3 separate regions of the Homo sapiens genome follow, and all the other regions are linked to region 2. The links are contacts of gene promoters, found by promoter capture Hi-C in blood cells and fetal thymus (Javierre and others, 2016). All regions are on one chromosome and are shown on one strand. Each heading gives the region's core, a stretch centred on a gene start or on the middle of the fragment in contact. The rest is flanking DNA. Distances are from core to core; before and after follow the strand shown. Region 1 overlaps DPF3 (double PHD fingers 3). Region 2 holds the start of DPF3 (double PHD fingers 3). Region 3 overlaps DPF3 (double PHD fingers 3).

Region 1 (2,700 bases), core at 173-2,672, 130 kb after region 2:
TAATTTAGTATATTCTTCCTATATCCTGCAACCTTGCTAAACTCATTAGTTCTAATAGCTTTCTATAGATTCTGTAGCATTTTCTATATAGTTGATTATCTGTTAGTTTGCTAGTAGATAACCTGAATAGTAAATAAAGAAAACTTACTTCTTTCTTTTAATATGAATAACTTTTATTTATTTTATTTGTCTCTTGCACTGGCTAGACTCTCCAACATAATATTAGGTAAAAGTGGTGAGACTGGACACCCTTATGTTGTTCCTGATCTTAAAGAGAAAGCATTTATTTATTTTTTTGTTATTAAGTATGACATTAGCTGTAGAATTTTTTGTAGATATTCTTTATCAGATTGAGGATGCTCCCTTCTATTTCTAGTTTGAGAGTTTTTTTTTTTAAATCACAAATGGATATTTGATTTTGTCATCTGATTTTCTGTGTCTATTGAGATGATCATGTGGTTTTTCTTTTGTTCATGGAAGCTTCATTATGTAGGAATGGTTGATTAAATTTAATATCTTAAGTTTACATTTAACATAATGAGTTACATTGATTGATTTCTGAATGTTAAACCAACATTACATTCCTAGGATAAACCCCACTTTGTTATGCTATTTTATCTTTTTAATGTATTGTTAGATTCATGTTGCTCAAGTTTTATTAGAGTTTTTGCATCTATGTTTATGAGAGATATTAGTCTATAGTTTTCTTGTAATGTCTGTCTGGTTTGGGTGTCAGGGTGATGCTGGTCTCATATAATGAGTTGGGAAGTATTTCTTCATTTTTACTTTTCTGAAACTTTATATAGAATTGGTATTATTTCTTCCATAAATATTTTATAACATTTACCAGTGAATCCATTTGGATCTGGCAGTTTCCTTGAGGTAATGTTTTTAATTATAAATTTAATTTATTTTATAGATATAGGGCTATTTAGGTTATCTATTTCATCTTGAGTAAGCTTTGTTAGTATGTGATTTTGTTTCTTTTATCTACATTCTCCTAATTGGTTGCACAAAGTTGTTCATAATATTGCTGCATTACTCTTTTAATATATGTAGAATCTGTGGTGGCATATTATTTTACTCATTATATTGTTAATTTGAATGTTATTTTTTACCTCATCATTCTGACTAGAGGTTTATCAATTTTATTGATCTTTTCAAATAAATAGCTTTTGGTAGAATTGTTTTTTCTGCTCTGATCTTTATATTTCCTTCTATTTACTTTGGATTTAATTTGCTCTTCTGTTTCTTATTTCTTTTAATTTTTTAATTTTTATGGTACATAGTAGGTTTATCTATTTCTTAAGGTGTAAACAGGTCATTGATTTAAGATATTTCTTTTCTACTACATCATTTTCTGATATAATTTCCCCATAAATACTATGTAAGCCTCATTTAAAAAATTTGATATAGGGTTTTTAGTTTCATTCAGTTCAAAATATTTTTCTGTTTGGTTTCTTCTTTTACTCATGGATTATTTAGAACTGTATTGTTTAGTTTCCAAACACTTGGGACGTTTCCAAAGTTGTGCCCATTATTTATTTCCATGTTAATTCCAAATGGTCAGAGAATAATTTTTATGGTTCAAATTCTTTTAAATTTATTGCAACTTGTTTTATGGCACCAAATGTGGTCTACCTTGGTAAATATTCTGTTTGCTCAGGAAAAGAATTGTGTTTTGCTGTTGTTGTTTGGAATGTTCTATAAATATCAATTAGGTCAAATTGGTTGATAATGTTTTTTAAATCTTCTACATCCTTATTTTCTATTTATTCTATGAATCATTGAGAGGTAGGGTATTGAAACTTATGACTATAATTGTGGGTTTGCTTATTTCTCCTTACAATTCTATTACTTTTTGTTTCATGTATATTGAAGCTTTGTTATTAGGTGTATAAACATTTAGTATTGTTATATCCTCAATAAATTGATTCCTTTATCATTATAAAATAATCCTCTTAATCTCTATTAATATTATTTTATCTGAAATCTCCTTTGTCTAATTCCAATATAGCCACTCCAGCTCTCTTTTGATTAATATTAACATGAAATATCTTTTTCCATTCTTTTACTTCTTGCCTATTTGCATCTTTATATTAAAAGTAGTTTTTTAATAGGCAGCATATAGTTGTGTTATGCTTTTTACATGTAATCTGACAATCTTTTTTAAGTAGGGGTATTTAGGCAATTTACATTTAATGTGATTATGTTTTCTCTCTTTTTTGTTGGTTTATTAACTATAACTCTTGTTTTGTTGTTATTTTAGTGATTGCTTAGTGTTTATAGTGTACATCTTTAATTATAGTTAACTTTCAAATTATATTATTCTATTTCATGAATAGTATAAGGAGTCTACAATAGTACTGTGATTAATAGAATAAGGCCCCTCCTCACCTCAGACATCCACATTTTAATTACTGAAATCTGTGCGTATGTTACCTTACATGGCAAAAGGGACTTCGAAGACAGGATTAAGGATTTTGAGATGGTGCGATAATCTTGGATTATCCAGGTGGGCCTAATGTAATCACAAGGGTTCTTATAAAAGGAAGGCAGGAGGAGTTCAGAGTCAGAGTAGATGTGTTGATGGATTACAGGCATGCGCCACCATGCCTGGCTAATTTTTGTATTTTTAGTCGAGATGGGGTTTCTCCATGTCGGTCAGGCGGTTCTCGAACTCCCGACCTCAGGTGATGT
Region 2 (2,700 bases), core at 179-2,678:
AAAAACATAGTGATTCAGCCACGTTCTGTTTATCTGTAAATCTAATAGTGTATGTAGTTGAACTCTTAAAATTCTGGAATGTTTATTTTATTTTATTCATTGTCTTGAGAGGAGCAAAAGGAAGCGAGAGGGCATAGCTTTGAAGAACTGGCAATTTGGCAACTTCTCTCCCCTTGCCACCCCTCCCCCACTATCTTAGCTATTTGATCTGATTAAACAGCTTTGGAATGGTAGCCAGACTTCTGTATGCTAACGAGGCCCCTACCCTATTCGCGATTTAATGCGATTTCATCCCCCCAGAGCTTCCCGGTGCCCAGTGGAAGCCTGACTTCGCAGAAGTCTCCCAATTTTGTCAGGGGCTCGCCAGTGAAGAGTTCACACTGACTTGAAGCAGACACAGACTCATTGGACGCCTCGGGTCACATCGGATTATTCATTAGCAAATTCTTTCCACCTTCTATCTAAGTAGTGAAAGGTGACGCCAGAATCGCGTGTGCCACTCCTCTAAAGGGACCCTGATAACACCCAGTCCAGGCTCTACAACTTCTGCCTAGTCACTTGCTTCCTAGCAGTAGAAAGTTTCCAAAGGTTGCCTTAAGTCCTCCCTACCCCTAAGCCTAAAGATCAGAGCTCCAGGTCCCACCACCTAGCAGGAATCTGAGCATTTTGGAAGTTTCTGGTGTAGAGGGAAGAACCGAAGGGGTGGTAGCGGGGAACCGCGCAGAGTAACCCCCCTGCACTACGTAAGGAAAGCCCTGGCTGCAGGAGGGAGCGAGCCTGACATTGAGACGTTCCAGGGGGAGGGTGAGTTGCTGTCCTGGAGTCGCCAGGAACAGCAGCGACAGTTCCAAGAAGCGAGAGAGGAAGGTGGCCGAGATAAAGAGAACACTTCGGGAATAAGAATATTAAAAAGCGGCAGGACCCAGAGCATTAGCAAACGGCAGAGCACATGTAGTAATTTGTTAACACGAAACGGCAGCCTTCCAACTTTTGCACTGAAACACGGGGATTTACCCTTTGGGGGATTAAAAATGTTGATACGCAAAGCCAAAGGCTAATGAATAGGATTCAGTGGCTTGCTGGCAATATTTAAATATTTCTGTCCGGGAGCGCAAACTCTTCTGCAGTTATTTAGAAAAGTAGGGAGTTAAACCAAACTATAATACTCTCCCGTGCGTCTCCACTTTCCCCAGCCCGAAAAGGAGCTACCAGCGCTGTACTGCCCCTTTAAGACCTGCTGGCTCTCGGGCTCTACAAAAGGGAGTGACCTCTGGGCTTTGACAGCTCTCCTAATAACTACCACGGCGCAGGCCCCGCCCACCTAGCTACCAGCAGCGCCGATTGGCCGGCGGGCCGGTATCCCGCGCTGTGATTGGCCCGTCGCTTCCCCTGAGCGAACCTTTAGAACTCTGAGACAATATTCTGTTACATTGTAGCAAAATGGCGACTGTCATTCACAACCCCCTGAAAGCGTAAGTAAGACTAAAAAATGTACATATTCCGCGTGGTTTCAATATGAAAAAAAAGGCGCCTTCTGCGTGGCGAGCGCTGCCAGAGCATTGCGCTTGCAGGCGCCTCCAGCCGCGGCGGGGCTTCTCTCTTCTTTCAGCTCTTACTTCTTCATCTTCTTTTTTTCCCCCAACGCGCAGAAATGTCAGGAGATGCAATTAACAAGAAGAAAATTGTTACATTTGTGTTCTGCTAAATTGCAGAGAGAGCCAGATATAGGGGTTGCAGGCGGAGAAGCCCGGCGCTCGAGCGCTCTACAGCAGGAGGGTCGCGGGAGCTCGGGGACGGCGCGGTCCCCGGAGTCCCCCGCCTCGCGGGCAGGGAGCGCGGCTTCGGGGGCTGCTGGGCGGGGGGCGAGCGTCGGGCAGTGGCCGCCTCGGTGTACTTGGCCGAGCCCCGCGCCCCCGAGCCCGCGGCCCCCGCCCCGCCGCTGGGTCCGCTGGGTCCAGCGGACGGACCGCGGAGGCTCCGGAGTTTGCAGGGCGCTCTTCGCCTTCCGATCGCTCGCGGGGAGTTTGTGCAAACCTTCCGGAGTTGGAGCACCGCGGGGGAAGCAGCGGGTCCCGGGCGTGCTGGGGCCCAGGTGGTCGCCCCGGGCTTTCCCCGGCAGCCCCCGGATCTCGGAGGCGCTCCGGGCGATCGAGCGTGTGTCTGCTCGTGTATTTGCGAGCGAGCTGGCTTTAGTGGATTAACGACTCGGGTTAACTTGGGGTGGATTTGGAGGCAGGGAAGCCGCAGGTCTTATGAATGGTGTTCTCGCCACCTCTGGGTGAGGCGCTGAGGCAGGCGGAGAGGCGGTTTTGGGGCTCCTGGCCCGAGGGGGCAGCGTCTGCTCCCGGCCGGGCGAGGGGCAGGTGCCTCTGGCCGCCTCGGGGAGACTTTGAGCGCTTGCCCAGATCCTGGACAGAGTGGGGCGGGCCGGGCGAGGACTCGCGGGGGCCAGCCCCGGGTCCAACAGCCAATTTCTGCCTGCCTGCCTTCCTCCTCCTTTTCATCCTTCCTTCCTTCCTTCCTTCCTTCCTTCCTTCCTTCCTTCCTTCCTTCCTTCCTTCCTTCCTTCCTTCCTTCCTTCCTTCCAGTCAGTGGAACTGTTAAGCCGCCAAGTCCGCTCGCGATCGCGGAGCCAGGGGTGGCCTCGGAAAACTAGTGTCGCTCTGAAAGGGGTGCTATTGGGTGATGTCGGCAGAGGGT
Region 3 (2,700 bases), core at 60-2,559, 210 kb after region 2:
TGTCAGGACTTTGGAACCCTGAGTGATGGGCCCTAGTCCCAAGGCTTGGATCTTTGTCATGGTCCTACCGATGTCCCTTAACTTTTGCCTCAAGACCAGTTGTCTAATGCATCATGCTGCATTGTGGCTTTTCAAAAGAGATGAACATGTTAATAGGCACTGTCTTAACAAAATTCCATCGACTGGGTGGCTTAAACAACCGGAATTTATTTCTCACAATTCTGGAGACTGGAAGTCCAAGATCAAGGTTCTGGTAGGGTCAGAGTGTGGTGAGGGCTCTCTCCTTGGATTGCAGATAGCTGCTTTCTCATTGTGTCCTCACATGGCCTTTCTTTGGTGTGTACGGGTGGAGAGAGAGAAACAAGCTCTTTGGTGTCTAATAAGGGCACTAATTTCATTACGAGGACCCCACCCTCATGACCCCACTGAACCTAATTGCCTTCCAAAGACCCTTTTCCAAATAACATCCCTTTGGGGGTTAGGACTCTGACATATGAATTTTGGGGATGAGGGACACACTTCAGTCCATAGTAGGCACATTTACTCTTCAAAGCTCTTTACTAACTTAGGCTGTTTGGGATGTTTTAGAGACCCCACCCCTGCATTACAAATTCTAGGTCATACTTTAATTGGTAAATGAGTTTTTTTCCTACAGAAAAAAAAATCACACATCATTCTATTCAATAATTTTCCTGAGTCTTTCTCTCTCATTCTGTGTCTCACTGTCTTTCCTGGCTCTCATTTTTTTTTTCTTCTAAACTTGCTCTTTTAAAAAAAAAAGCTTGAGCCTGAAGTGAAATATTAGGATTCATCCTTGCCTCTTGGTTTTCCTTCAGTCTTCCAAAATATACCCTACATTTTCTCCCTCTCTCTATCTTCTGGCCACCCCTGGCTTCTGCCTGGGTTGTTAAAACTTTTTTGATTGGTCTCCCAGCCTCTAAAGCAGGCTGTGGCTCATACCTGTAATCCCAGCAGTTTGGGAGGCTGAGCTGAGCAGATTTCTTGAGCTCAGGAGTTCGAGTCCAGCCTGGTCAACATGGTGAAGCCCCATCTCTACTAAAAATACAAAAATTAGCCAGGTGTGGTGGTGCATGCCTATAATCCCAGCTACTCGGGAGGCTGAGGTGGGAGGGTTGCTTGAAGCCAGGAGGTTGAGGTTGCAGTAAGCCATGATTGTGCCACTGCACTCCAGTCTGGGAGACAGAGAGAGATCTTGTTTCTAAGAAAATATATATATATGTAAAATATAAAGCAGATGATGTCACTCTCATGCTCTCAACACTTTCATCACGTTTGAATACAACCCAAACTCCTCATCTTGTGGGTCTGTGTTTTGCATCTGACAGTGTGGTCAGAAGCACCTGGGGCTTGGTGACAGCTTGTCCAGGTTTGCCCAGCTACAGCACTGAAAGCCCCACGCCCTAGAACCCTCTGTCCCAGTCAAACCTGGATGCGTGGCCACCCTACCAGGGGAGCTTTTAAGACATGTAGAATCTCAGGCTGTACCCTGGATCTATGAATTCCAACCTGATTGTTAATGAGATCCCCAAATGATTTGCACAGCAAAATCTGGGAAGCCCTAGCCTGTGAGGCCCTGCGTGTCCACCTCTCCGACTCACCTCCCCTCAGGTGCGCGGTTGCTTGGGTTCAGAGCCAAGTGAGCCACTGACTAACGTGTGACCTTAGCTGAGCTGCATAGCCTCCATATGCCTCATGGATCACTATGTAACATCAGATCATTAATGGCATCTATCTCATAGGCTATGATGAAGATTAAGTGAATGACTTCCGGGTGACATGACTGTCACACCAATTAAAGCCATGTTTCTCAAGCTTGAGGCTGCATCAGAATCACCTGGAGCATTTGTTAAAGCACAGCCCACCCACTGGATCCCACCCCCAGAGTTTCTGATTCAGCAATTCAGGCCCTGGAATTTGCTTTTTTTTTTTTTTTTTTTGAGATGGGGTCTTGTTCTGTCACCCAGGCTGGAGTGCAGTGGTGCGATCTCGGCTCACTGCAACCTCCACCTCCTGGGTTCAAGTGATTCTCTTGCCTCAGCCTCCTGAGTAGCTGGGATTACAGGTGTGCACCACCACACCCAGCTAATTTTTGTATTTTTAGTAGAGGCGGGGTTTTGCTATGTTAGCCAGGCTGGTCTCGAACTCCCGACCTCAAGTGATCCACCTGCCTTGGCCTCCCAAAATTCTGGGATTACAGGCATGAGCCACTGTGCCTGACTGGGAATTTGCATTTTTGACAAGTTCCCAGGTAAACCACTACCTTACAGAAATCTAGCTTTCCAAGACTGATGTTCAGTCAGTCAACTTCCTTTTAATTCCTTTTTTCTTTTGGATGCACTGAGCCAGGTAACTGGCCAGGAGTTAGGTTGTACTGTCAAATTGAAGGGGCAGCCTTGGTTTTTGCTCTTTTCCTAATGCTCTATCCCATGTAGGGCAGACGTCTCTGACTCTCAGCACCAACTTCCCGGCCTGCTTTTGGAGTGCGCCCCTGCGTGTGCCACCATCCTCAGGCTGTGCTGCCCCAAGACTCTGTGGTCTCTTGATTCCTTCCAAATCCTCAGGTCTAAAGCAGAAGGCTCATGCTTTCCCTTTTCTTAAATACGGCTTTCTGTCTGAAGAACAAAGAAAATGCTGGTCCCCTTGCAGACAGAGTTCAGTGGTGCTAGTGAAGAGGGTTGA

The links. The method cuts DNA at HindIII sites, captures the fragments that hold promoters and counts their contacts. A CHiCAGO score of 5 or more calls a contact.
Region 1: a fragment that was not itself captured here is called in contact with the fragment with the promoter of DPF3 in region 2 in 1 of 17 cell types (endothelial precursors); the score reaches 7.9 in endothelial precursors.
Region 3: a contact is called between a fragment that was not itself captured here and the fragment with the promoter of DPF3 in region 2, in 1 of 17 cell types (endothelial precursors). The highest score is 9.2, in endothelial precursors.

The regions. Positions count from the first base shown.
Region 1 is chr14:72,760,246-72,762,945 of GRCh38, reverse strand. The region is part of intron 2 of DPF3 (double PHD fingers 3); the gene reads left to right. Among named protein-coding and RNA genes, the nearest start is that of DPF3, 130 kb to the left of the region's middle. The HindIII fragment of the contact is 922 bases long and covers 962-1,883 here.
Region 2 is chr14:72,892,829-72,895,528 of GRCh38, reverse strand. It overlaps DPF3 (double PHD fingers 3), which reads left to right and starts at 1,428. Exons shown (of 11, transcript NM_001280542.3): 1 at 1,428-1,472. The coding sequence starts at 1,441. RefSeq lists an enhancer at 1,174-1,468. The HindIII fragment of the contact is 4,463 bases long and covers 1-2,700 here.
Region 3 is chr14:72,682,585-72,685,284 of GRCh38, reverse strand. All of the region lies in intron 7 of DPF3 (double PHD fingers 3), which reads left to right. Among named protein-coding and RNA genes, the nearest start is that of MIR7843, 170 kb to the right of the region's middle. The HindIII fragment of the contact is 1,052 bases long and covers 784-1,835 here.